7 separate regions of the Homo sapiens genome follow, and regions 1, 3, 4, 5, 6 and 7 are each linked to region 2. Evidence: promoter capture Hi-C in 16 types of primary human blood cells and fetal thymus (Javierre and others, 2016). All regions are on one chromosome and are shown on one strand. The core of a region is centred on a gene start or on the middle of the fragment in contact, and the rest is flanking DNA. Distances in the headings are between cores, read along the strand shown.

What was found. The method cuts DNA at HindIII sites, captures the fragments that hold promoters and counts their contacts. A CHiCAGO score of 5 or more calls a contact.
Region 1: a contact is called between a fragment that was not itself captured here and the fragment with the promoter of SYNCRIP in region 2, in 3 of 17 cell types (monocytes, total CD8 T cells and non-activated CD4 T cells). The highest score is 10.5, in monocytes.
Region 3: a fragment that was not itself captured here is called in contact with the fragment with the promoter of SYNCRIP in region 2 in 2 of 17 cell types (non-activated CD4 T cells and total CD4 T cells); the score reaches 5.9 in non-activated CD4 T cells.
Region 4: a fragment that was not itself captured here is called in contact with the fragment with the promoter of SYNCRIP in region 2 in 1 of 17 cell types (neutrophils); the score reaches 5.9 in neutrophils.
Region 5: a contact is called between a fragment that was not itself captured here and the fragment with the promoter of SYNCRIP in region 2, in 3 of 17 cell types (non-activated CD4 T cells, fetal thymus and M0 macrophages). The highest score is 8.9, in non-activated CD4 T cells.
Region 6: a contact is called between a fragment that was not itself captured here and the fragment with the promoter of SYNCRIP in region 2, in 7 of 17 cell types (activated CD4 T cells, monocytes, naive CD8 T cells and 4 more). The highest score is 22.3, in activated CD4 T cells.
Region 7: a contact is called between a fragment that was not itself captured here and the fragment with the promoter of SYNCRIP in region 2, in 3 of 17 cell types (total CD4 T cells, monocytes and fetal thymus). The highest score is 8.1, in total CD4 T cells.

Annotation. Positions count from the first base shown.
Region 1 is chr6:82,228,490-82,232,208 of GRCh38, reverse strand. IBTK (inhibitor of Bruton tyrosine kinase) reads left to right here. Exons shown (of 29, transcript NM_015525.4): 4 at 367-491. Among named protein-coding and RNA genes, the nearest start is that of IBTK, 17 kb to the left of the region's middle. The HindIII fragment of the contact is 1,716 bases long and covers 773-2,488 here.
Region 2 is chr6:85,640,737-85,644,248 of GRCh38, reverse strand. SYNCRIP (synaptotagmin binding cytoplasmic RNA interacting protein) reads left to right here and starts at 1,363. Exons shown (of 11, transcript NM_006372.5): 1 at 1,363-1,452; 2 at 2,798-2,957. The coding sequence starts at 2,810. RefSeq lists silencers at 284-1,303, 1,894-2,043, 2,264-2,313. The HindIII fragment of the contact is 3,992 bases long and covers 1-3,512 here.
Region 3 is chr6:89,141,027-89,144,824 of GRCh38, reverse strand. It overlaps LOC101929004 (a long non-coding RNA gene), which reads left to right. Exons shown (of 4, transcript XR_942766.4): 2 at 992-1,078. It also overlaps a transcript of PM20D2 not described here. Among named protein-coding and RNA genes, the nearest start is that of PM20D2, 3.1 kb to the left of the region's middle. The HindIII fragment of the contact is 3,442 bases long and covers 1-3,153 here.
Region 4 is chr6:89,324,710-89,328,653 of GRCh38, reverse strand. It overlaps UBE2J1 (ubiquitin conjugating enzyme E2 J1), which reads left to right. Exons shown (of 8, transcript NM_016021.3): 8 at 1-2,029. Among named protein-coding and RNA genes, the nearest start is that of GABRR2, 11 kb to the right of the region's middle. The HindIII fragment of the contact is 4,319 bases long and covers 188-3,944 here.
Region 5 is chr6:88,963,743-88,967,388 of GRCh38, reverse strand. No RefSeq gene overlaps it. Among named protein-coding and RNA genes, the nearest start is that of RNGTT, 1.9 kb to the right of the region's middle. RefSeq lists a silencer at 3,474-3,646. The HindIII fragment of the contact is 1,429 bases long and covers 948-2,376 here.
Region 6 is chr6:89,082,713-89,086,673 of GRCh38, reverse strand. It overlaps PNRC1 (proline rich nuclear receptor coactivator 1), which reads right to left. Exons shown (of 2, transcript NM_006813.3): 2 at 1,514-2,921. The coding sequence ends at 2,478. Among named protein-coding and RNA genes, the nearest start is that of PNRC1, 3.9 kb to the right of the region's middle. RefSeq lists enhancers at 1,113-1,639, 1,640-2,167. The HindIII fragment of the contact is 4,237 bases long and covers 1-3,961 here.
Region 7 is chr6:82,249,960-82,253,987 of GRCh38, reverse strand. No RefSeq gene overlaps it. Among named protein-coding and RNA genes, the nearest start is that of IBTK, 4.2 kb to the right of the region's middle. The HindIII fragment of the contact is 4,001 bases long and covers 767-4,028 here.

The DNA of each region.
Region 1 (3,719 bases), core at 381-2,880, 3.4 Mb after region 2:
AGAAACAAGAAACAGCCTGGGCAGAGTGGCTTATGCCTGTAATCCTAGCACTTTGGGGGGCCGAGGTGGGAGGATCACTTGAGCCCGTGAGGTGAAGACCAGTCTGGGCAACATAATGAGACCTTGTCTCAATTATTAAAAAAAAACAACAACAAAAAAAAAAGAAGCAAGGAACAAATGTTTGATTGCTTGCATTGAGACAGGCCTGTACTATGATTTGGATTTTCTATTTCTAGAATTACCTAATATCATATTAATATATTCATTCAGAGAAGAGCGTTGGCATCTTTCTAAATATTGTAGTTAAATTAGTTCTTATATGTGTTTTAAAATATAAAAAAGTATAAAAACTAATTTTTATTTTAGATCCTACAGATGTTTATACTTGGGGCGATAATACAAATTTTACCCTGGGTCATGGAAGCCAGAATAGCAAACATCATCCAGAGTTGGTGGATCTGTTCTCCAGGAGTGGGATTTATATCAAGCAGGTATTTTTGAAGTACAATCTATATACTTTTAGAGATGAGAAAGAACTTTTGTATTTGATTGTTCAGCTTTTCATGTGGATTACATAACTTTGTTTCAGGTACAGTAACATTTTAATGAGGAAATCAATCAATAGAACTTTGCTAATTTTATTTTAGATATTGTTAGCCTTAATTATATTTAGACTTTGTAAAATACCCTAAAATATAAGATATTTGTGCAATTAGTGTTAGAAATTAGAAAATGTTATACAGATAGTAGTTTAATTTAAGAGGGTAAAGCTTCTCTTGATTTTCTAGCTTTTCTATTTAACAAACATTACAATTCTGTAAGCTGTTTCTCAAGTGAATTTGTTGTTGAAGCTCAGTGTTATTTTTGATAAGTGAACAACAGTTCTTTTTTTTTTGGTGGCATTAAAAAATAAAATAATTTCAATTTAGAAAACAACACACTTCTTGCAATTTTTTGTAACAAAATAATGTTTTTAGGTTCCAAGCTATTTATCATGAAGAGAATATGTTTAATCTTATGTGAAGTTGGATGACAGCAGTCTGGAAAGGCTATAGAGTTTTTTAACTGAGGGTCTGGTAAACTGCCAGTCATTCTATTTAATTATTTGTATTCACACTGACAAGCAATAAATAATTAAATGTCTAAGTCTCAGTTCTCAGTTTGGATAGTAGATAGAACTAAAATTTCATCACTTATGGAGACAGATAAGCAATGTTTTGGAAGTGTGGGGTTCAAAAATTTGCCCTTAGATGCTTAGGCACGAGTGATGCTTTTTGTGAACCTGAGTTCTTAAATGTAAGTAATTGTAAAATTTTAATAGATACAATTGTAAAGATTTGGTCTGTGGTCTTATATCCTTACAATGCATGATATCTTCTACTTCCCCAGATACAGCTACTGTTGACAAATCTTTCTGTATTACATTGTGTATATGTGTGTATGTATGTGTATCTCTAGCCCCAGTCTTTCTCTTGAACTTTATTTCAGTTGTACTGTGGGTATTCTTTCAAGATATTTAAATTTAGAATGTCTGAAGTGTTATTTTTGCCACTCCTAAACTACCCTATTCAATTTTTAATGTTATAAATCTCAAATTCTAAATCCTGAAGATGATACCTCAGAGCATGTCTATTTAGTTCTTTTCTGTCTCATGAACCTAGGTGCCATGTCCTTTTCAAGCTCTTTTTTTGGACAGTGACAACAGTGTCCTAATTTGACTTTTTGGCTCCATTCATTTCAACCCCAATAATATTCTTCTCCAGAATTATTTGTCTTAAAAAAGAGCTAATTATGTGTTTATCTACTAAGTCACCTTTGGATAAAGTCCAAACTCTGTGGCTTGGAATGTAAGAACTTTTTCAGTCTTCCTAAATTACCATTTCAACTTACATTTCCTACAACTTCCTAGTTATATTCTTTCTGCATTTTGAAGTTCATAAAACTTCTTTGATCCAGAATATGAGCTTGGAGTGTTTTTATCACTATAGTACTGGCTCTTTCCAACTTTCACCTATTATTTATATATGACATACATAACAACACTTAGTTTATATCCTGAGATTGAATTCTTAGACAGTTTTTAGAGCTACTTTGACAACATATCCCTAGTTTGCCCAGGACAGTTCTGGTTTATGATTATTTTCCTAGTGTAATTGTTAGTATCCCCTTTCATTCTCAAAAATGTTTGCATGATAAATAATATGACCACTATATTTAGGGCTCCATAGAACACTATTTTTTAAACTAAAAGTCACAACCTAATGCATCACAACCAGCAATTGAACAAAAAAAGCAATAGAATCCTTAAACTCTAGAGAATATTAAATTTTGAGAGAACAGGAATAAAAACCCATATAGGAATGAAAAGTGGCTAGAGAAGTAGGGAGTAGAATGGTGTCATGAAAGCTAATATTCTTGTGGGTCTTCTCTGTAGATGTGGAGGGAACTTAGGATAATGAAAGGACTTGTGATGGGCGAGAATCAAGCTTGGTGTCCAAGTCTTTAGTGAATGTGAGAGGGGTGAGCAAGATGGTGAGAAATCAGAGCAGGGGCAGCAAGTGTACAAGCTGCTCACCTAGTCTAGAGCTTTTTGCAGACATGCTAGTCAGTTTTTTTTTTCTCATGCTGAGCTTGAGTGGGTCCTCAGACTCCTCCTTAAAATGATAATCCAACCATTAGCAGCCACTAATGATTGATTGGAATTGTGGCACAAGAAAGACACCTGTTTTTCCTTTTTTGAGGTAGTACATGATATACCTTTATTTCATGAGCTGTTACGGAGCAGGGATTTTAAAGACAAGAGTGAGGGAATCATGATGGCATTAGGAAATCAGAGGGTGATTGAAATGTCTGATCCAAAGAAATATATAGTTTGGAATATTTGAGCATATTCCATTTGCCAGGGTTGTGAGTGAACTAGTGTACTCAAAGAGAAAGCCACATTTCAGGTAAGGCAAGGCAGTGGGCGTGTTTTGTGAAGGTATTAAGGATCTAAGGGATTTTATTTACCACAGAATGAGGGTGAAGCAAGCACAGTGGGTAGGTTTGAAGGAAAGAAATCAGTATAAATTTCAGTCAGGGAAGAGAAAGCAAGTATGGGAATATTAATTGAGTACCAGTTATATAGAGAGCCCCATTTGTTATTGAAAAGGGGCTGATTCTATATTATACAGTACCAAATTAATTAACTACCATGAGACAGAGATTATTAATGTTAGTATTATATATTCCAGATAATTAAAAGCGAAAATCCATGCTCAGTTCTTATTTAAAAATTCAGGGGTTTTAGGCTGGGCGCAGTGGCTCATACCTGTAATCCCAGCACTTTGGGAGGCTGAGGCGGGCAGATCACGAGGTCAGGAGATCGAGACCATCCTGGCTAACACAGTGAAACCCCATCTCTACCAAAAATATAAAAAATTAGCCAGGCGTGGTGGCGGGCACCTGTAGTCCCAGCTACTCGGGAGGCTGAGGCAGGAGAATAGCGTGAACCCGGGAGGCAGAGCTTGCAGTGAACCGAGATGGCGCCACTGCACTCCAGCCTGGGTGACAGAGCGAGACTCCGTCTCAAAAAAAAAAAAAAAGTCTGGGGTTTTTAAAGTTGGATAACTTAAAACTGTCTAGTATTGCAACTGTTGTTTAGTAGTAGAAGTCAGCAGTTGTAGGATGGCATTCTAATATTTAATATAAAATTGAATGAAATGTATTCTTTCTTATTT
Region 2 (3,512 bases), core at 114-2,613:
ACTGCTTAAAAGGCCAGGGACTGAAACGGAGTATTGCACAACCCTTCACCACCGGGCGGTTTCGCTTCCAAATCTGGCCTTCGTGTCATCCCAAGGCAGGAGCCGCTCCTCGCTCCACTGGAGCCAGCCCCGTTCCCCCTTCAAAAGCAGCCGGGGTTTCCGCGTCCAAGCCTGGGGCGCCCCTCCCTTCGCCGAAGGTTCCCGTGAAAGCGGAGCCGCGCGGCTGCGAGGAGGGCCCACTGTCCAGTTGGGGAGATCGAGTCTCCAAGGGCGACTCTCGCACTCGAGTACCGCCAGTCCGGCGGACCAAAGGTCCGCGGGTCTCCGCGCCGCTCCCCTCCCCCTTGGCCCCATTGTCTGCCTCGCCCCGCCCCGGGGGACACGTGCGCCTGCAGCTTCCCGAGGAGGAGAGCGCGGGGCGGTGGCAGCGGCGTGGACACCGCCTGGAACGGCTACGCGGCCGCGGAGCCGGGGGCGGGGGCCGGGCGCGCACAGACCGGTGGGTGCCCTCCGGGAAGCGGCAGTCGCACTCAGCGCCCACAGCACTCTGCCCCGCCAGCCCCGGACCGGGCAGGGATGGGGCGGGCGGGAGCTCGGTGGGGGTGGCGTGCGCATGGTGTCGCGGGGAGGGGGTGGGGTGGGGCGGGGTGGGGAGATGCCAGTCTCCTGACAAAGGAAAACGAGTGGGACACGCTGAGCCGGCCCGCCCCGCCTGGAGGGGAGAGGGAGGGGGAGTGTCGGGAGGGGAAGGGGCGGGCCTTTCATTCAGTCTCGGCCCCTCGGCCGCCACCGTCGGAGCGGAAGGGCGGGGTCTTGTGCCTCCCCCACCCCCAACCCAAGGGGTGAGGAGCGGGGAAGGCGGCGCGGCGTGGGGGCGGAGCCCGCGGGCGCGCGTCCCGAGGCGTAGGCTACGTTGTCACGTCAGCGCGGGAGAGAGAAAGAGAGGAGCCGACTCGGCAGGGACTGGGGGACCGGGCCGAGAGTGCGAGCGAGCGAGGGAGGGAGTGAGGGAGCGTGCGAGCCAGAAGGGGAAAGGCGGCCACTCGTGCCTGAGCGACCGCAGAGGGGAGTGGGAGCAGTGGGGTAAAGGAGCGGGGGGCGGGAATAAGAAAGGCCGAGAGAAGGCGGACAGAGGCTAGTGGTGGTGGTGGTGGTAGGGGGAGAAGGAGGAGCTGGAGGAGGGCAGGGGCTGAGGGAGTGAGTGAAGCGGACGCGCGAGGGAGGGGAGGGAAGGGAAGGGAAGGGAAGGGGGGGTCACGCGGGGGCGCGCGCGCGCACCGGGAGCGCGCTCGGAGGCGAGTGGAACTGGATCGGGTTTGCTGCCAGCGGCGTGAGCTTCGGCCGCCATTTTACAACAGCTCCACTCGCGCCGGACACAGGGAGCAGCGAGCACGCGTTTCCCGCAACCCGATACCATCGGACAGGATTTCTCCGCCTCAGCCCAACGGGGAGGTAACGACTGCCAGAACCTGGGTGTGGGAGGGGAGCTCCATGACATTGTGGAGTGAGCTGGGGGAGGGTGGCGCGGGTAGAAACCGGCTTTTCTGGAAAATGGATTCCAATGGGGAGAAGAGCACGTTGACTGGGGCTGCCTGGGAGTAGGCCGCGGCCCGCGCCGCCACTTCCTCCTTTCCATGTGCTGCTGCGGTTCGGGCTTTGTCTGCGGCGCTTTGGGAGGAGGCGCCTCCACGGTCCCGTGGCCCGCACGGACCGCGAGCGGCTTCAGAGTTGGTGCTGTCGTGGCGGTCGCCGCGGCGCGGGAGTGGGCGGAGAGGAGTGGGTCTTGTCCTGCAGCCGTGCGGCGAGCTTGGGCGGTGCTCACGGTCCCGCGGGCGTTGAGCCGTCCGCTGAACGCCCTCACGCTGCTGGGTTGCCGGGCAGGCGTCGCAGTCACTGCACGGAAGGGTAAGGGGTGGGGACCTGCACAGCGCGCCACGGGTCACGTCTCGGCCGGGCGGGCGGCCGGGGGTCGTCGGCGCCCGGGGAGCGCCAGGGGCGGAGAGCCATGTGTCACGGCGGAGACGGCGGCGCTGGGGGGCGGGGAGAGCCTGTGGCCTGGCGCCGCCGGTGCCTCGGTGTTCAGGGGAGAGATTGTGCTGCTGCAGCTTTCTGGGGGCTCCGACCGCGGCTTCGGGTTGATGTTGGGAACCAGTGATGGTCGTCTTGGTTTGGGATTCGTTGGGTTGCCGTTGAAGGAAGTTGTAGGACATTGGAAGGCGCAGAGCACGTGTTTCTAATGGGCTCCTGGCGGCCGCAGTGGTGAGACTGCCGCTCTGGGTGCGGAGTCAGGGGCGGGCTTTGGGGTGCGGGGTTAAAGGGTGGAGAAATTGGGTGGTGGGAAGGTGGCTTGTATGAGCGCTTTGTTCTTCGCTGGCTGTTGTTACCGATCTATAAGCGGCAGGCGGGAAAAGCGCGCACTTTGGGGGTTTATCTTTGAGAGAGAGGAGCCCAGTTTTGCTTTCTCCACACACACCTCATTTTCCGAACGGGCACAGCTGCATGTGGCACGCTGGCTCGTACCCGTGCTGATTGGGCTCTATTTGTAATATGGTTTTTCCTAGGGAGTGTTAGCAGGTGAGTCAGGGGTGGTGCTGAGGAAGAATATGGTGAATCGGTCCTTCTGTGCCCTGTGCTCCAAATCTGGCTTGTCAGGCGATAGTGACTGTAAGGCTTTTTTAAAGGGAGGTATAGGCTAGCTGGTGTAGTAAATGGTAGAGAAAGTAAAGATGGGGCTCTCATATTGTCTTGTATTCTTTTTGAAGATCCTAGTTTAATTTTGCTTATTGCGTTTGAACAGATCTCTGGAAACATGGCTACAGAACATGTTAATGGAAATGGTACTGAAGAGCCCATGGATACTACTTCTGCAGTTATCCATTCAGAAAATTTTCAGACATTGCTTGATGCTGGTTTACCACAGAAAGTTGCTGAAAAACTAGATGAAATTTACGTTGCAGGTAAGAACTAACACTTGCAAAATTACATTATGAAATTTTTCTATTGGATTTCTGGCTTTGAGCTAAAATAGCAACTTTTTGTGGTTTCCAATAAGTGTGGGTACTGGAGTTTTGCTTGTTGTGATAGTTGGTTAATTTAAGTTTGAAGTAGAGGTTAAGATGTATAGAGGGAGGGAAGAAGAGAAGGTTAGGAGCTAAAGGCTGGCTTGCATGCTGGCCTGATGGATAAGTATATGATAGTAGCAACAGCTGCTAAATGTTGGGAACAGGCCATGTGACTTTTTTGAGTATTTTTATAGTAGGATTCTTCTTAAATAACTTGGTAACTGTAGACTTGTTTTCTTGTCTTTCTGGTGCGGCTGTTAACTTTTTCTGGTGGTATTTGAAATTGAGTAGAGGTTCAGTTGTCATGCTTGGTACTTTGTTGGTTGATTCTAGGATTCGTAAGTCTGTATACTGTAAAAATACCGTAGTGTTCAGAGTTATCAGACTTTGGAGATAAAAGATGTAAAAGAAGTTAGCTGATTATTGTAAGTGTGGTTGGTAGGGCATATT
Region 3 (3,798 bases), core at 183-2,682, 3.5 Mb before region 2:
GGCGATAATAAATCTTTCTCTGGTATTCTGCTGAAGAAAATTACCCTGTATCCACGAGATCCAATATTATCCTGCTCAGTTAGTTGGCTAAAAAAAGGGGAGAAGGGGGGATTGGAGAGCAAAAGCAATAGGTGACATTTGTAGAGCAATTACTCTGTGCTAGGCACTGTTCCAAGGGCTTAGCATTTGTTAACTCATTTAATCCTCACAGCAAACTATGAGGTGGTTAATGTGGTTATTTATCTTCATTTTACAGATGTATGTCCAAGATTATAGAGCTAGTAAGTAGTGGACCCACTGTAGAACAGAAGCCAGAGTCAGCCTCCAGTGGCTGACTTTCAGCCACCATGGTCTATTGCTTGTGTAAACAGACATGCAAATTCATAAATGCATCTCCAGTTTATCTATTCAAATCAGAACCCACAACACTCATTTTGAATAAATTTTACTGCAGCAACTCTGCCTGCTGACATCAGTAGAACCCATGTTTGCCCTCCTCAGGCATCAATAAACAGCAACAGAAAAGGGATGCATATAATTTCATATAGAAGCTGCTATTTATATTGCTTTGCAGGAATTAACAAAGCTGCCACTTGAGGTAGAGGAAAGACAGATTCATTTCAAGCTCTGTTCCTTGTGTATATATGTGGGTGGGTGGGTGGGTATACATGCCCACAGGCACGTATGTATTCAGTTTCTACTGTTGACACCTTGTATTTCTTGCTCATGGTATTTTGCACCCTTGAATTCATTTATTTGATAAACTGTGATAACTTGCTGACCGTTTATCTTCCCCTCCAGGCTTTAAACTCTTTTGTTTTCCCACTGCATTCCCCAGCACCTAACATCTTATGGTCAGCATTTCCTCTGTGTTAATAAATATTTGTTGGCTGATTATTCTTCTTGAATCTAATAAACTAACTGAATAATGGCAGCAATTAACCATTAAACGACACTGACTACCAATAGACATTGTTATGCTTCTTCCTAGACTTCTCAGTCCTTTATGTGGAGCTGGGGGCAGGAAGAATTGCTTCTGGAAGCTGATGGAGTTGGACATGTGGCTTTCTAGAATCTGGTCAGCTCATAAATTCTTACTATTACTTTCATTTGTACCCATAATATTCATACAACTGTCTACCCTATCTATGTGCTACTGGTAAGGAACCTGTATGTTTTTATTAGAAACAAAAAAAAATGTATACAAGCTCCCTTCCTTTAGCTGGTGCTGGATCTGAGGAAACAATACAATATCCAGAATTTAGTATTAAGATGTATAACCTTTTTGGGGGGGTGAGAGGAGTGCAGATAGTTCTCTCTTGAGGACTGGTTTTAAAGTATATAAATGTTCTTTCTTGGCTCCTGATGAGAAAAAAGGGGAAAAAATATATAAAGATTCCTCTTCTTTCCTGGCTGCTTAGAAAACCAGCTGTCATCACAACTGACTCAATAACTTTGAGAACAGGACATTCATGACAAATGAGTGCTGTGGTGGAAAGAGTAGATCAAAAATTTCCTTTACCCTGGAAAAGCAACTAAAATACAGCCAAATTGTACAACTATACTGGGTATTATTTTGGGCTTCAGATTCAGAACTCCTTTTGAAAAGGCAGCAGGCTTTTGTATGGTTTATATTCTTTGAATTAAGATAGAAATAATAAAATAAAATCCCCAACATGGCAAAGCATGAGCTCATGGCAAAGCATGAGCTAAATGAGAAAAAAAAGTTTTTGAAAACAGAAAAAGGAATGGAATGAAAAATAAAATGAAGAAAATTAAAGGTAGAGAAAAAGTAAATAGAAGTACCAGAGAGCTTCAGTGCAGGATTTCAGGAATGAAAAGCAAACAAACAAAAATAATTGTGGGGGGCCGGGCGCGGTGGCGCACACCTGTAATCCCAGCACTCTGGGAGGCCGAGGTGGGTGGTTCACGAGGTCAGGAGATGGAGACCATCCTGGCTAACATGGTGAAACCCCGTCTCTACTAAAAAATACAAAAAATTAGCCGGGCGTGGTGGCACGCACCTGTAGTCCCAGCTATTCGGGAGGCTGAGGCAGGAGAATGGCGTGAACCCGGGAGGTGGAGCTTGCAGTGAGCCGAGATCGCGTCACTGCACTCCAGCCTGGGTGACAGAGCGAGACTCCGTCTCAAAAAATAATAATAATAATAATAATTGTGGGGGAAAGGAATAAAAAGTGCAAAAATGATTTAATCCAAGGAGAGAGTGCAGATATTTCACCAAAAAAATCAAACTTATAATACCTTCAAAATATATGATATTTCCAAAAGTGCATGTGAATCCAGCCTACATCGTTTCAGTTTAACAATACTTGGAACTACAGCAATTTTCTCCTGAACAAAATGCTGGCCACTGCACGATTTGAGGACTGCTGCTGCCAGCATGGAGAAGAAGCAAATCACAGTGTCACTTTGGTATACTGGTCATTTACAACATTCTCCTAAGCATCCCCAGACACACATGCAAACTTGGTTAACTCCAGAAACTTCTCTAGCTGAAACAAACACGTAACACGCACTAGATAGCACATGTAAAATCAATCTGGGCTAAGGTGTTGGAAGAGCTGGTTGTCATATGGCAGAAAGCAGACAACTAAGAGAGTAGGTGAGCAGAAAGGTGAATTTGATTGGGGATGAAGGGACATAGAGGAAGTGTACAACACATTGCTAAGGAATTACAACTTTAGCTGGTTTTGGTGGCTCATGCCTGTAATCCCAGCACTTTAAGAGGCTGAGGTGGGAGGATAGCTTGAGCCCAGGGGTTCAAAACCAGCCAGGACAATATAGGGAGACCCTGACTCTACAAAAAATAAAATAAAATAAAATAAATAGTAAATAAGCCAAGCATGGTGGCACACATTTGTGGTCCCAGCTCCTCTGGAGGCTGAGGTTTGAGGATCGCTTGAGCCCGGGAGGTCAAAGCTACAGTAAGCATGATTGCACCACTGCACTCCAGTCTGGGCAACAGAGTGAGACTTTTGTCTCAAAGTAAAATAAAACTTGGACAATGGCTAAACTATTGGATGTTATTAAGCAGGAGAGAGACAAGATCAGAAATTTGTTCTACAAGAATAATTGATGACTATTTGGAAGATGAATTGGAAACAGACTTAGGTCTGAGATAAGTTAAAAGCTTTTGCAGGCCAGGCGTGGTGGCTCACGCTTGTAATCCCAGCACTTTGGGAGGCCGAGATGGGCGAATCACTTGAGGTCAGGAGTTTGAGACCAGCCTGCCCAACATGGTGAAACCTCATCTCTACTAAAAACACAACAATTAGCTGGGTGTTGGGGCGGGCGCCTGTAATCCCAGCTACTCAGGAGGCTAAGGCAGGAGAATCACTTGAACCTGGGAGGTGGAGGTTGCAGTGAGCCAAGATTGTGTCACTGCACTCCAGCCTGGGTGACAGAGTGAGACTCTGTCTTTAAAAAATAATTTAAAAAATTAAAAATAAATAAAAGGCTCTTGCAAAGTCCAAGGATTCCAGAAACATTCCGTGGGCAGAAATGGCCAGACTTAATTCCTCACTGAATGTCTGTTTAGGTGAAGAAGGTGCTCCAGAGAAAGGGGGAAAGAGAACTGAAGTTTCTCGGGTTAACAGCTGAGTGAATGGTAAAGCCATGAAACAAAATAGGGGAAATAAGAGAGTGAGGGGCAAATTGATGGATGTGCATTAGACACGTGGAGAGGAGGTAGATGCAGTTGTCCAGGAGGAGACCAGCAGAGCACCAAGGAAAGTGCATTTCTACATAGCTAGTATGAGTAATGGTATACCCAGAGGG
Region 4 (3,944 bases), core at 1,098-3,597, 3.7 Mb before region 2:
CAATATATAACTTAGTGCTAGCTAGCGCCACAGACTCTAGTAGATAATATTATCATCATAATGGCTGGTGAAACCATATAATCACAGAAAAACATTGCCTTCAGCATGTTCAGTTCGCAGCACTGAGGGCACTCTTGAGGGTGTTGTTAATGAAGATTTAATTTTTAAATACAGGTGGTTCCAAGCTTTCAAATAGGTTATGCTCCAAAAGTGTTATTTGTAAGTTAATTTTTTTACAAGTCAAACAATGTTGGAAGTGGTATTTAGGTTCTAGATCGGTCCACGAAAGTTAGCCCATATGTATATCTTGAATAGTATAGGGGAGGGTATTCATAAAGTCCTTATGTGGTTTTAACTAAGTGAAATTATGGACAAGAGAAATAATTGTAAAATCGTCTTAAAGGAAAATTTAATTTTTACTCCTGTTTATGGGACATTCGTTCTATTAACTGTCAGACACAATTTCTGTTTTCATCTGAGAGCCAGTTTTCCTTTATTTCTACATCTAAAATAAGAACATATTGTACACTATTATATAATACAGAATTGTCTTAAACTTTAATAAATTCGCATTTTAAAGGTGTTTACAGATTATTTTTTATATCTGTAGCTGAATTTGTTAAAGTCTAAAAAGCTCAAGGACTTTATGAAGATCTCATTATATGAGGAAAATCATAGGTTACCATTTTATAACTCTATTGCCATAAGAAAATACACTCTAAAATCTTGATTTGAAACATATTAGAAACCTTGATTCAGTGCTCAGTGGTCTCCTAGTAAGAAGTCACCGACGGTAGCGTCATATGAGAAGAAAGAAATCCCCACCACCTCAACCTCTGCTGAGATTGTGTGCTAGGAACAGCCTTCCCTCCGTTTCCCCTCAGTCAAACTTGAGCCAGCCTCTGGATCGATGTGATCTTATTGCATGTTTCCATGGGGTGTACCTATACTTTAAGCCAATCCTGCTGCATTCACTGCTAAGTTAAATAAAAAGCCAAGAAGATTTTGCACTGTGCAGATCCTTTGCTATCTGACTTGCATCTCTTCCCCCACCTGTCAGCTAGCCACCTGCTTGTTTGTGTTGGGATATTTTTTAGCACCTGAAGCACCATCTGAAAGGGGCACCATTTTCTTCTTCCCTTTGATCTCACATATGCTCCCTAAAAATCCTTAAGTTGTCAATCTGATCCCCAGTGTGAGGTTAATGAGCAAAATTGGTCTTTGGGGCCCTTTTTGTCCAAGCCCCACTGAAAGGCCTCTTCAGAAAACTATTATCTTTAAAGCCCTACTTTAACTCCTTAATTCCAGCATACAGCTAAAACTGGATGTATATTCTGGCAAGTAAAGGCTGAGGACTCCTCTTTAATCCTCAGATCTAGATAACTCATGACATTTTATTTGACCAACATAGCACATGATGAGATATCAAGGTAATTAAAATAGCATGCTTGAAAAAAAAATACGTAATCTGTTTCACCTGTAACTGTTTAAGCCAATAAACTTTTCAAAATTTATGTAATGTGGGGCTTTTATGTAGCACTTTACGTTTTCATGCTGCTTATTGTTTTATTCTACTGAAAAAAATGAATTTCAAGATTCTCAACTTTTTTAATTTCAAAAATTGTTTATTGTTTTGACTATAGGAATACAAAATTTCCTATTTTGGGAGAATAAGAACTCTTTTTGTCATTTTTGGCTATGAATAAACTTTCTGGTCTTTTGAGACCACCCATTTTTATAGATCAGAATCAGAAAACAGGTAAACCTCACTCACACATTTGGACTCATTTGAACAAAAATCTAGGCCAAAATACTGAAAAGCCTATGTGTTTTTTTAATTGGAAGTATATGTAAGGTTAATGCATTTAGTGAACGTGACTAACAAAGACTAATGTGCACATTAACAGATGTACTTTTTAAGGTTTTATGGGAGGCTGTGCATTGCTCAAAAGCTGTTGGGAACGCCTTCTGAACAGTTGCCTTCAGAACTAGTTTGAGCTGCTCAATAAAACCAGTGACTTTACTCATACCTTGTTTTTGACCAAAGGTTGTATTCTTTACATCATCCAGTCTTGTCTCTCATCCATTCTACCTCCTAGAATATTTCTCTCTCATCTTTCCACTTCCCTAACTAGGCACTATATCCTATTTAGCTATTAACTCCTCCAAATTGGTGCAGTAACCTCCTAACAGGTCTCTAGTCTCACCCCATTCCTTACATTGCAGCCAGAGTTTTCAATATACAGACCTGATCTCTTCTCTCCTGTTGCTCTTAGATAGGGTGAAACCCTTAACATAAAGCACAAGGCTGTGCATGACTAGAGTCCCACCTAGGTGTCTGGCATAATCAGACCTCAGCAAATGCCTTTGGGGCCTTCCCACAGCTCTGACCTCGATCCACTGGGGCTATACCCTGCCCTGAGAAAAATGAGTAAATAAAGTTATACCATCCACTACCTCATACACCATATAAGAAAATTAACTCAAAATGGATCAAAGGCCTAAATGTAAGAGTTAAAACTATAAAATTCTTGGAAACTTAGTAAACGTGACAATGGGATATGCAGTGGTTTCTTAAATATGATATCAAAAGCACAAGCAGGTCTGGCATGGTGGCTCAGGCCTATAATCTCAGCATTTTGGGAGGTGGAGGATCACTTGAGGCTGGGAGTTTGAAACCAGCCTGGGCAACATAGCAAGACCCTGTGTCTACAAAAAATTTAAAAAAAATTAGCCTGTAGCCCTAGCTATGCAGGAGGTGGAGGTGGGAGAATTGCTTGAACCCAGGAGTTTGAGGTTACAGCGAGCTGTGATAGCACCACTGCACTCCAGCCTGGGCCACAGAGCAAGATCGTACCTCTTAAAAAAAAAAAAAGAAAAACACAAGCAACCAAAAAAAAAAGAAAATTATATTTCTTTAAATAAAAAACTCTTGTGTATCAAACAACACCACTAAGAAAGTGAAAAGACAACACAATGGGAGAAAATATTTGCAGATCACATATCTAATAAGGGACTTGTATCTGAAATATCTAAATAATTACAATTCAGTAATAAAAAGGAAATAACCTGATTTTAAAATGGCAAATAATTTGAATAGAGATTTCTACAAAGAAGATATCCAAATGCCCAATAAGCACCTGAAAAGAAGCTCAACATCCTTAGTCATTAGGGAAATGCACATTAAAACCACAGTGATTCCAGTTTACACTCACAAGGATGGTCAGAACAAAAAAGCCAGATAACAAGTGTTCGTGAGGATGTGGAGATATTGGAACTCGCATACATTGCTGGTGGGAAGGTAAAATGGTGCAGCCACTTTGAAAAACAATTTGGCAGTTCCTCAAAAGGTTAAATATAAAGTTACCATATGACCCAGCAATTTCACTGCCACATATAATATCCAAAAGGAATGAAAACATTTACACACAACCTTGTACACAAATATTCATAGCAGCATTATTTTTAATAGCCCCAAAGCAGAAACTCAAATGCCCAGCTGATGGATAAGCAATATGTTGTATCTATACATACAACATATTGTATGTATATGGAAATGGAATTGTATGTCTATGGACATATTGTATGTCTATGGAAAATGGAATATTATGGCCATAAAAAAGAATGAAGTGATGATATATGCTTCATTGATGAACCCTGGAAACATTACGCTGAGTGAATGAAATCAGACACAAAAGGCTGCATATTATATCATTCTAATTACATAAAATGTCTAGAATTGACAAATTCATAGAGACAGAAACTAGTGTTGGTTGCCAGGGGCTGAAGGGAATGGGAAAGGGGAATGACTTCTAATGGGTATGAGTCTTCTTTTAGGGGAGCTGCATAACGGAATATTCCAAAAGCCACACATTAAAGGGGTGAGTTTATGGTATGTGAATGATATTTCAATAAAGTTGTGATTAAAAAAATAATTATACCAT
Region 5 (3,646 bases), core at 413-2,912, 3.3 Mb before region 2:
ACATGAACTGAAAGGTACCACATCTTTTACCTTCCCTTTAAAAAATATATGATCTAAGCACTTGTCTTCCTTTAGGCCAATTAGAGTTTTTTTTTTTTTTTTTTTTTTTTTTTGAGACAGAGTCTTGTTCTGTTGGCCAGGCTGGAGTGCAGTGGTACAATCTCAGCTCAATGCAACCTCTGCCTCCTGGGTTCAAGGGATTCTCCTGCCTCAGCCTCCCAAATAGCTGGGACTACAGGCACGTCACCACACCTGGCTAATTTTTGTATTTTTAGTAGAGACAGGGTTTCACCATGTTGGCCAAGCTGGTCTCAATCTCTTGACTCTCAAATGATCTGCCTGCCTTGGCCTCCCAAAGTGCTGGGATTACAGGCATGAGCCACCACACCTGGCCTTAGAGCTCCTTTTTTTTTTTTTTTTTTGAGATGGAGTTTTGCTCCTGCTGCCCACGCTGGAGTGCAATCTCCACCTCCCAGGTTTAAGTGATTCTCCTGCCTCAGCCTCCCAAGTAGCTGGGATTACAGGCATGTGCCACCATGCCTGGCTAATTCTGTATTTTTAGTAGAGATGGGGTTTCTCCAAGTTGGTCAGGCTGGTCTTGAACTCTCGACCTCAGGTGATCTGCCTGACTCAGCCTCCCAATGTGCTGGGATTACAGGTGTGAGCCACCGTGCCTGGCCTTTGAGCTCTTTTCATAGACATCATGTACACAACATATATATAGCTACACAGACAGGCAGAAGAAAACCAGTCCCCATAAGATCCTTTTTCACAACCAAACTTTAAGGAGAATATAAACAGGGATCCTTATCATTCCTAGCCTAGTGAAAAAGAAAAAAAACATCTGGTTTAAAAGTTAACTGTTGATGGGGTGAAGAAAAAAGGATGCCTGGGGGAATAAACCTTTTATTCTTAGGCAAATGGTTCCTCTACCAGGGAGAGAAGCTTATCAGATGGAGTTGAGCCTTGGCCAGGGAAGGGGAAGATGCTGTGGACATGTGGCATTCCCCAGCCCCAGCTGGGAGGGGAGAGGGAATGAGGAGCTGCGACTTGCCTATCCTTCCCAAAAAACGAAGGCAAAGGCCATGGAAAGGCCCCTGACCCCAGGGAGCGATGGGAGTGGGGGCATGGTTTCCCTACCCTCAGAAGTCCACGCATGAAAAGGCTTAGAAATGACAGTGAAAAGTTTTGAGTCCCCGTGTCACTCAACCGCTTCTCAAGCCCCACATTGGGTGCCAAAGCTGTTGTACGACTTTCTCCTTAGTTCAGCTAAGAGCTGGGTCCTGGTCACATGGCCATGAAATATTAGGCTCACAGATGCCTTGAAGGGTGAGAATGGAATTTATTGGGCAAAAAGAAAAAAAGGGAAACAGAGACTCTCCCCAAAGCCAGAGTGCTTCCTGCCTGGTAGACTGAATCCCAGGTTCCACCTAGGAAAAGGAGGGGCCAGGCTCCTCCCCACTGCAAATGGCGCAAATTTCCCAAGGCTCCACCACAGGGTGCATTCCTCCCAGTGCTCAGGTCAAAAGGAGATTCTGCCAAGGAATCCTTCCCACCTGGCTGTCTTACCAGCACTTTGGGAGGCTGAGGTGGGAGGGCTGCTTGCAGGAGTTCCAGACGAAAAAAGTATAAAAAAGTTAGTGGGGTGTGGGGGCCTGCACCTGTAGTCCCAGCTCCTTGGGGGCTGAGGTGAGAGGATTGCTTGAGCTTGGGAGGTTGAGGCTCCAGTAAGGCTGCCCTGATCATGCCCACTGCACTCTAGCCTGGGTGAGAAAGTGAGACCCTGTCTGCAAAAACAAAAGATTTATCTACATATCAAAGTGAAGAGGAAGGATTAATAAATATAGGTTTTTCTCAAGGAAAAGTCCTAGGAAAAGGGAAGACAGATAAGATCTCTCTCTTTTGCCAAAAGAGAACGTTCAATCTTATTTTTTACATGTACACACTCTTCCTTATGGGCAAAATGGATGTTTGATGAAAGACTCACCAATGAAGAGAATCTACATCTGATAAAGAGGAGATCAAGACATATCTGGGAGGGTGTCAGGGGTTCCAGGAAGCGGGGGAGGAATCATGTTGGTCTGTCTGTGAGCATCTATTTTTCTTCTCACAGAGTAGTAGAAACTTGGGACTAGGAGCAATATAGGCAGAAACACACATCAGGCAAGGCATTCCTGACAGGCAGAGAGAAACTGCCTGCTCATCGGGATGCCACTCTCCTACTCTACTCTCTATTGTGGACAAAAGGTAGCCACAGGGTCCTCCCAATTCTGTGGCAATGAGTATGGAGAGGGCATAACTGGATAGCAGAATAAAAATCCAGTGCACATTGCTGCCTTACAGCCAATAACAGTTGCTCGCCAGTGGTATGAAGCTTCTGTGTGCCTAGGACTGAGCTACTGGGTATAGCGTGTGTGGGAAGGGGAGTCACCAAGGGGAGTCATCCCCAGAAGGGGAAGGTAAGATACTCTTCCAGGATCAGGCTCACCTTTCCCATCCTTGGAGGGGGTCTGGGGATGGAAGGTTTTTACCACTTTGGGCATGGTACACACTCTATCAGCAGAAAAGGGAATTCATCGGAGATTATTTGGGTAGACTGATGGCCTTAAAGGAAACTGGGTATTATCTTGTTCTGTCAGGGGAGGAGTTTACACCTTCACTAACAGTTCTGAGCAGATGCAACAGCAGGACAGACCAGAAGTGTGACCTAACTCAGGCTGCCTCAGAGAGATTGCTGTTGGACTGCCTCTATTGATGGGACTCTTACTGAGGGGGTCCAGGCATTCAGGGGGTTGAGCGTCCCAGAAAGTTCCCCACCGACGCTTTAAAAATGTATTCCCTGCAGCCTTACGTTCTTGCAGTTCCAATATAGCATTGGTGTTTAAAGCCAAACTACATTATAATTGATTCGCCATCATCCAGCTTTATATTTAACACTTTAATCTGGTAACAAAGGAAAGGCTCGTTAAAGGACGGCATTTATAAAAATTTTTCAAGCACCTCTGCTTAACTCGAAGGGAAAATAAAAGGCACTGTTTATTTGGTAGGCCAAGGAGAACAACGCCACGAAGAGGTTCTCCACTGATCAATTCCTACCTTTGTCAATTATACCACATTAATTAGTAACTTTTTTTGGAGACATGGACCCTCTCAAACTCCCCAGTATGCTTTGAAACTTTGATCCAGAAATGTACAAACAAAACTCTAAGTGTTCTGGAATTAATTTCAGAAGCTTCATAGATCCTCGTAAGTACTCACCAAAAGAAAAATTCCCCATTTCTGGTACTCCAATCTCATGTCCTTAGAATTCTCCTAAGACTTGTTCCCTTGAACAACTTTCCCTAATTGCAAATCAAACCTAGATCCGGCTGGGACGCCAAGCTTGAGCTGTGGTAACGCTCAGAAGGCCTCTTTTCATCAGTAAAATAGATGCCTTAACGGAAGTGGCGGGCAATCTACGCATGGAAAGGCGCTTGGCTTCCCTCTTTTTTGGGTTTCTCTAGGTTGTCTGGATGGGAAAAAAATACACGCTTCGTCCTGCGGAGTTCGGTACGAGGGCAATTGCACATGCGCAAAGGCGAACCAGTAGCGTCCGGGCGCGTCCGTGGAGCGGGACGGGGCGGGGCGGGGCGGTGCCGAGTGGGGC
Region 6 (3,961 bases), core at 795-3,294, 3.4 Mb before region 2:
CTTTGAGAACTGCCATGCTTACAAAATAAAGTTGAAGCTCTTCCGCGTGACACTGAAGGCCCTTCGTGTTCTTACCCCAATATACCTTTTAAAAACTTCCCTTCCTTTCTTGCATTTCTCTTAAGCTACTGGACATTGTACATTTTTTTTTTTTTTTTTTTTTTTTTTTTTTTTTGACATGCAGTATCACTCATCGCTCAGGCTGGAGTGCAGTGGTACAATCTTGGCTCAATGCAACCTCCGCTTCCTGGGTTCAAGCGATTCACCTGCCTCAGCCTCCCAAGTAGCTGGAATTACAGGCACCCACCATCACACCCAGCTAATTTTTTGTATTTTTAGTAGAGACAGGGTTTCGCCATGTTGGGCAGGCTGGTTTCGAACTCCTGACCTCAGGTGATCCACCAGCCTCAGCCTCCCAAAGTGCTGGGATTCAGCGTTGTGCATCTTTTTACACCACCATCTGCTCAAACTTTTACCTCACAATTTTTTTCCTTTTTTGTGTGTCAAATACTTATCTTTTAAGGCTCAACTCAATTTTTTTTTTCATTTTTTTGAGATGGAGTCCTGCTCTGTCACCCAGGCTGGAATGCAGTGGCGCGATCTCGACTTACTGTAACCTCCGCCTCCCGAGTTCAAGCAATTTTCTGCCTCAGCCTCCTGAGTAGCTGGGATTACAGGTGCCTGCCACCAAGCCCGACTAATTTTTTTCTATTTTTAGTAGAGACAAGGTTTTACCATCTTGGCCAGGATAGTCTTGAACTCCTGACCTCGTGATCCATCCGCCTCAGCCTCCGTAGGTGCTGGGATTACAGGCGTGAGCCACCATGCCCAGCTCAACTCACTGTTACTTTCTAAGGTGTCAGATTCCCAAAGAGAAAATTTTCTCACCAAAATTAGTCCCTTCACCCTAAGAGACTTTACCTTTTTCTCTCTTCAGGCATTTGTTGTTGTAGAGTGGGGAATATAGCTTGTATTTTAGTTATATTTGTCTTTTCTCCCCATCCCACCTAAACTTTCAGCTCTGCCATTTATCCTTCTATTTCCTGAACATACGTTACACATAAGCCCTCACACATTAAACTGCAGACATACTGCTCAAAATGACAAGAGCTGAGAAATGTTGGACAAGGAAAGAAGGGTGGTTGAGGCGGTAGGACTTATATTACATTGTGTAGGAATTTTTATAACCATGTGCAAAAATGTGTTGTTAAAACCTGTTAATGTGTCCCTTTCTAGAATCACAAACTGATTTGGGAGAGATGTCAGAACTCACTGTAGTCAGTCATTAGTATTAATATTTACAACACATTACTAACAAAAGCTAAAATTGGTGACTAAAAATTGGGGGCATCTTCAAACTAAACTTCTAAATGAGCTTCCCTTCCATTTGTGAGGAAGGTGTATCTGCATTTGTAAGGAAGGAATGGTGACTCACACAAAACATCAAACAGAAGTTCCTTTGTATATTCGATCTTCTTTACTTGACCTGATTGCTTAACATTCCCACTCAAAATCTGTCTCCCTTACTTTCTCTTGGCCTTTTTTTTGAGACAGCGTCTGTTACCCAGGCTGGAGTGCAGTGGCCTGATCCTAGCTCAATTGCAATCTCCACTTCTCAGGCTCAAGAGATGCTCCCGTCTCAGCCTCTAGAGTAGTCAAGTACTATGCTCAAAAACCTCAATGCTGCTCCTGGTAAGAAAATGTAGATTATGGCCAGGCATGGCGGCTCACACTCAGCCAGTAAAGTAGAAGTCAAAAAAATCCAACCACACAAAATCATCTCCTAGTCACACATTCAAACATGAGAAACAGTCACACACAAAGAGTCAAGACTATTTTAAAAGGGGGGGCCAAATTATTATTATTTTAAAATTTGATTACAACCAATTTTGTTGGCATTAAAATTAGAGGCATTAAGCTGGAATGGATATATACCAAAACCAGAAATTGAGTTTAGCAAAAATGGGAATAGGAGTTGTTCAGTAATTTCAGATTACAAATCAATTTAGAGAAACAAACCCCATGCTTACATTGATTGTGCCACAGATTTAAACTTCAGTAGTGCATTAGTAAACTGTTCACATTTAGATCTTCACCTTGAGATTTGACAGCTGTTTCTTGAAAAAAATCTCAGTACCTTGTGCAAATAAAATCGGTCTTCCATGTGCCTTAGCACACACTTAAAATTTATCCATTGTATATATACAAAACACCTGCAATGTGGGCAGGGCAAAATACATACTTTCATAACAAAACTATAATATACCTCTCAAGTATGAACAATATACACATAATACATGGTATACAGTATTTACAAAATATAAAATATAATACAAGCTGTTTGTATGTAATTTTTTAAACTCATCTTTTGCAATTGTATGTTGCAACAAGGCAAATTTCCATTTCTGTACCAATTTTCTCAAGAGTCCAGGGATATGGGAAAAATTATGTTTTACACACATACTGAAATCTGAAATCTAAGTTTGAACTTTGAGGAGCGTTTTTAAGTGTACTGCCATCAGCTCCCTGTTTTGGTTGGAATTTTCAACAGTGCTTCCCATCCAGTGACTAGGAGGCTTTGGAAGAACACTAGGAGAAGGTGGATCACTAAACTTTGCCCCAGCATAATTTTCCTTTTGGCTCACTTCAGTTAGAAATGCTGATTTCTTCAAATGCGAATTTTTAATGTTCTCGGTATTTTTAAAAGGCTTTTTTTCCTGCTTCTGAATTCTGTCAGATGAAACAGAATCCTGCCAAAAGTTGTTTTCATTTCTTTTTGCAGAGGTGATCTTGGTTAGTGGCAAGTTATATTTGCTTTTCTGTCTGTTTATCTTTGGTTGCTCATACAAGTGTATACCATGAACAAGCTGGCCATGGGGAAGGGCAATTTTCTCCGATTTTCCCATCTTTGATTTTAAAACCTACAAAGACAAGAACACAAAAGTAAATATAGTTTCTAGATAAAAATCAGTTATGAACCTCATATCACATATCTAGTTTTGTTGTGTTTAAGTTTGCCCACAGCCATAGAAAAGAACAAAATTATGTTCTTTGTGACAACACGTATGTAGCTGGGGGCCATTACCCTAGACGAATTAATGCAGAAACAGAAAACCAAATATCGCAAGTTCTCACTTACAAGTGAATTTGGGAGCTAAACACTGGGTACAACATGGATATAGTGGGGAACAACAACAGACACTAGGCACTACTAGAAGGGGGGTTGAGAGAGAGATGGGGACCTACTGGGTACTATGCTCACTACCTGGAATGGGATCATTCATACTCCAAACCTCAGCATCACGAAATATACCCATGTAGCAAACCTGCACAAGTACCTCCTTGATCTAAAATAAAAGCTGAAAATTACAAAAACTTTAATTGGGCATGGTGGCTCACGCCTGTAATCCCAGCACTTTGGGAGGTCAAGGCAAGCAGATCGCTCAAGCTCAAGGAGTTCGAGACCAGCCTGGGCAACATAGCGAAACCCCATGTCTACTACAAATATAAAAATCAGCCCGGCGTGGTAACACGCGCCTCGGGAGGCTGGCTGAGGCGGGATCCCTTCAGCCTGGGAAGGGGAGGATGCAGTGAGCAGAGATCGATCGTGCCACTGCATTCCAGCCTGGAGTGCGATAGAGGCAGACTCTGTCTCAAGAAAAAAAAAACAACAAAAAACTTAAATTTCCCTTGACTTTTAAGTTCACTCTTGTTCGCCACTAAAAATGCAGTTAATCACCACTGCTAGTTACCAGTATGCAACGTGAACCAGTTCTAAAATGTCAAACTAAAAAAAGTCTGAAATAACCCAAGTCCACCTTTCTACAACTGTAAGGAAGACTAATGAGCTCTCTTCCAAATACGAGTGCCAGAAACAATCTTTGCTGTGTACCTCCTTTCTGGTTTAGTAACTGCTTCAAGAACGCTGCTTCACTCACCTTAATCTTTCCCAACTTAAGTG
Region 7 (4,028 bases), core at 1,518-4,017, 3.4 Mb after region 2:
GTCTCCTATCTCATCCTGTGACTATTCTTGCCTAACCTTCTGGGGATGCAGCCCAACAGATCTCAGCCTCATTTTACCCAGCCCCTATTCAAGATGGAGTCACTATGGTTCAAATACCTCTGACATCCCCCTACACCAGTCAGAAGTTCAGACCTCCGGAACTCCTGACTGATTGGCTTCAAGTTGGGGTTCCCATGACTCCCTCTTTGAGTTCTATTAATTTGCTGGAGTGGCTCAAAGAACTCAGGAAATAATTATATTTACTGTTTTTTTGTTTTGTTTTTGTTTTTGTTTTTGTTTTTTGAGACAGAGTTTTGCTCTTGTTGCCCAGGCTGGAGAGCAATGGCATGATCTCTGCTCATTGCAACCTCTGCCTCCCGGATTCAAGCGATTCTCCTGCCTCAGCCTCCCGAGTAGCTGGGATTACAGGCTTTTGCCACCATGCCTGGCTAATTTTGTATTTTTAGTAGAGACGGAGTTTCTCCATGGTGGTGAGGCTGGTCTCGAACTCCCGACATCAGGTGATCCGCCTGCCTCGGCCTCCCAAAGTGCTGGGATTACAGACGTGAGCCACTGCGCCTGGCCTACTGGTTTATTAAAAAGGATATTGCAAAGGATACAGATGAAGAGACGCGTAGGGTGAGGTATGAGGGAAGGGACGTGGAGTTTCCATGCCCTCCCTGTGTGTGCCACCCTCCAGGAATTTCCATGTGTTCACCTATCTGGAAGCTCATGAACTCTGTCCTCTTGGATTTTTATGGAAGCTTCAGGACATCAGCATTCCTTCCCGCAGGGTATAGGGTGGGACTCTCTCGTGGGAGGGTCTTAAGACCCAGAGTCAGAAAGGTGCGGAAACTATGGAAGAAGGGCAGGAGAAGGTCAGAGGCCTGTTCCTGAGGTCTAACATACCCAACTTTATAACAAATGACTGTAACAAGGGCTATGGGAGTTATGAGCCAAGAGCTGTGGATGAAAACCTATATATATATCACAACACCACAGGCTGTTACTTTTTCCCAATCTAGCCTCTTATCCACTTTTCAAGGACTCTTCATAAGTTCTGGACCTTCAATGGCCAAGGTTCTTGTTTTCCAATGCACTGATAAGTTTAAGTATGTTAAGTATGTTTTCTTTTCTTTTTTTTTTTTTTGAGACAGAGTTTTGCTCTTGTCGCCCAGGCTGCAGTACAGTGGTGTGATCTTGGCTCATTGCAACCTCCATCTCCCTGGTTGAAGTGATTCTCCTGCCTCAACCTCCCGAGTAGCTGGGATTATAGGTGTCTGCCACCATGCCCGGCTAATTTTTGTATTTTTAATAGAGATGGGGTTGTACCATGTTGGCCAGGCTGGTCTCAAACTCCTGACCTTAGGTGATCTGCCTGCCTTGGCCTCCCAAAATGCTAGGATTACAGGTGTGAGCCCCCACACCCGGCCTAAGTATGTCTTTTCTATCAGTCCTAGGGATTTATGGCATGAAGAGAAGGCTCCAACCACTATGTATCAAACTCACTCTTTTTCTTTCTTCTCTCTCTCTCTTTCTAATAGTGACAACACAGATTTAATTATTTAGCTAAGTAGAAAAGGAATAGGAGCAATTCTCAGTAAGATGGGCTGAGAAAGGCAAATGATACATTTTTCAGTCATCGTAAAGGGAAGACTTTTAGGAGTTCAGTGTTCTGATTGTAATAGAATACTAAGCCTGTTAAGTTTATAAGTTTGATTTATCTCAAAGTTCTGCTTATTTCATCTAGGCTTTGAATTTACCTTGAATTTCTCCAGTATTTGCCTTGAATTTCAGATTTTTTTGGTGGACTATGCTTTTAAACATAAGATTCTAAAGTTACATTCAAATACTGCCACCTTGTGGGTTATTCTTTGTTTCCCCATCCCACCCTTTAATTTGGTGGAAACAGATTCATCCAGGCAGTTCATTTCAGGTTATGTCAATTAAGTTGCTAAGAGTTGTACTAAGAGCTTCATATATATAATATATACATTATATTATATATATATATAAAATCTCATTTAAACTTCTTAAGAACTTTATGAAAGCAATACTATTAACCCTATTTCAGAGATGAGGAAACTAGGCTTAGAGGGTTTATGTAACTTGCCTGACATCTCACAGATAGTAAGCATAGGAGTAAAACTTTATATCTGGGCACCTTGCCTCTAGAATCCTTGTCTCCAGGAGTAAAACTAACAAATCTAAAAATAAAACAGTGTGATACATTATATGACTAAGTGATAGAAGCAGTATAAAGGGAATAATTGCTAGGAAAGGCCATCCGGAAAGTCTTCACAGATATGTGGGGAGGTGACCCTCTGTAAGTAAGGATTGGAAAGATAATGATTCTATAGGAAGAACGCAGCTGGGACCATACACCTGAATCCAGAAGAACACAAACACCCTATGTGGCCTATTGTTTTGTCTGCCTCACCCTGCTTTCTTTTGGGGAACTACTCTTCACTCTGCTTTAACCATGACTCTAATAGAGGATGTCAATCATGTTATCCTTGATTCCTCACCTAATCCAAGCCGACATGAGTCCGTCAGGTGCCTAGAACTTTTGTGCTTGAGATAATAGGCTCAGTGCTATCTTCCCTAATGGCAAACCTGAGGTGAGATATGTGATTTATGTGAGGTACTTAATTTGTGTGCCAGAAAGTTGTAGTCAACCAGTGATGTCCTGTAGAAGATGGTGTGGAGTAGAAGAGAATGAGGCTAAACAATAAGGTTCCAGTCATCTCTAGGCCAGCTGCACTATTGATCTTCCTCTAAAAATCATTCTTGTAGAACCTAATCAGGTTTGGGTTTCTAATCAAATTCTAGTGTTTTCTCTTCTGCCACCAGCACTGTCATTTCCTACTCCTATACAACTTGAAAGACAGCAAAATACACATAATGATGTCAGTACTTTTAATTATAAAGGATAGTACTACCAATTTATTTTGGAAAAATGGTATTTAGGGAGTTTATTATAGATGCCATGTGGCTTAGAAATATTTCTGCAGTGCTCCACTCTTGATGCCTGTACTATTCTTTTTCTACTCCCTCCGCCCATCACTGCAATCTTTTTATTTATTTATTTATTTATTGAGACAGAGTCTCGCTCTTTCACCCAGGCCGGAGTGCAGTGGCGCTATCTTGGCCCACTGCAATCTCCACCTCCCAGGTTCACGCCATTCTCCTGCCTCAGCCTCCCGAGTAGCTGGGACTACAGGTGCCCGCCACTGCGCCCGGCTAATTTTTTTTGTATTCTTTAGTAGAGATGGGGTTTCACCGTGTTAGCCAGGATGGTCTCGATCTGCTGACCTCGTGATCTGCCTGCCTCGGCCTCCTGGGATTACAGGCATGAGCCACTGTGCCTGGCCCATCACTGCAATCTTTTAAAGTCATCTCTGGTTTTTTTATTTTTTACTTTAAAAAATAAAACTACTTTAGAAACTCTAGTCAATTATTTTTCCAAACTTTGATTTTTTTAATCATTCAAGTAATATTTAAATTATTGCAATGAAAATTACAAAAGTCAAAATGATAGAAATTAAGAATCACCCATAATCCCACCATAGAAACAATCATTGTAGATATATTTTGACCTATTCTTTCATGTGTAAACACAAAATTTTTTTAAAAATCAAACAAAATGGCTCATTTTGATTTCTTCCTCCCTTAACCACATCTACAATATATTTTTCATTTAATTGTATTTCATTTGTACTATTTCCTAATTATTTTAATATTTTGTCTTGCAAATAACCAGTAAGTACTTTTGAAAGCATCTAACTTTCCTGGGAAAAGGGGAGCAATTCTACATTCCTTTGACTGGAATGTTATTTCTTTCCTGCTTCATCTACTTATCTCCTCGTTATCTAGTTATCTGAGTTATCTTCTGCTCAGTCTTTAGTTCATGTGTCACATCTTTTGGAAGTCAGATAAATCTATCAGATTAATACTTATAAACGTTGCAATTTATTATGCTTGGGAATATCTGGGTCTACATGTATTTTTGTTCACTGTTGGATCCC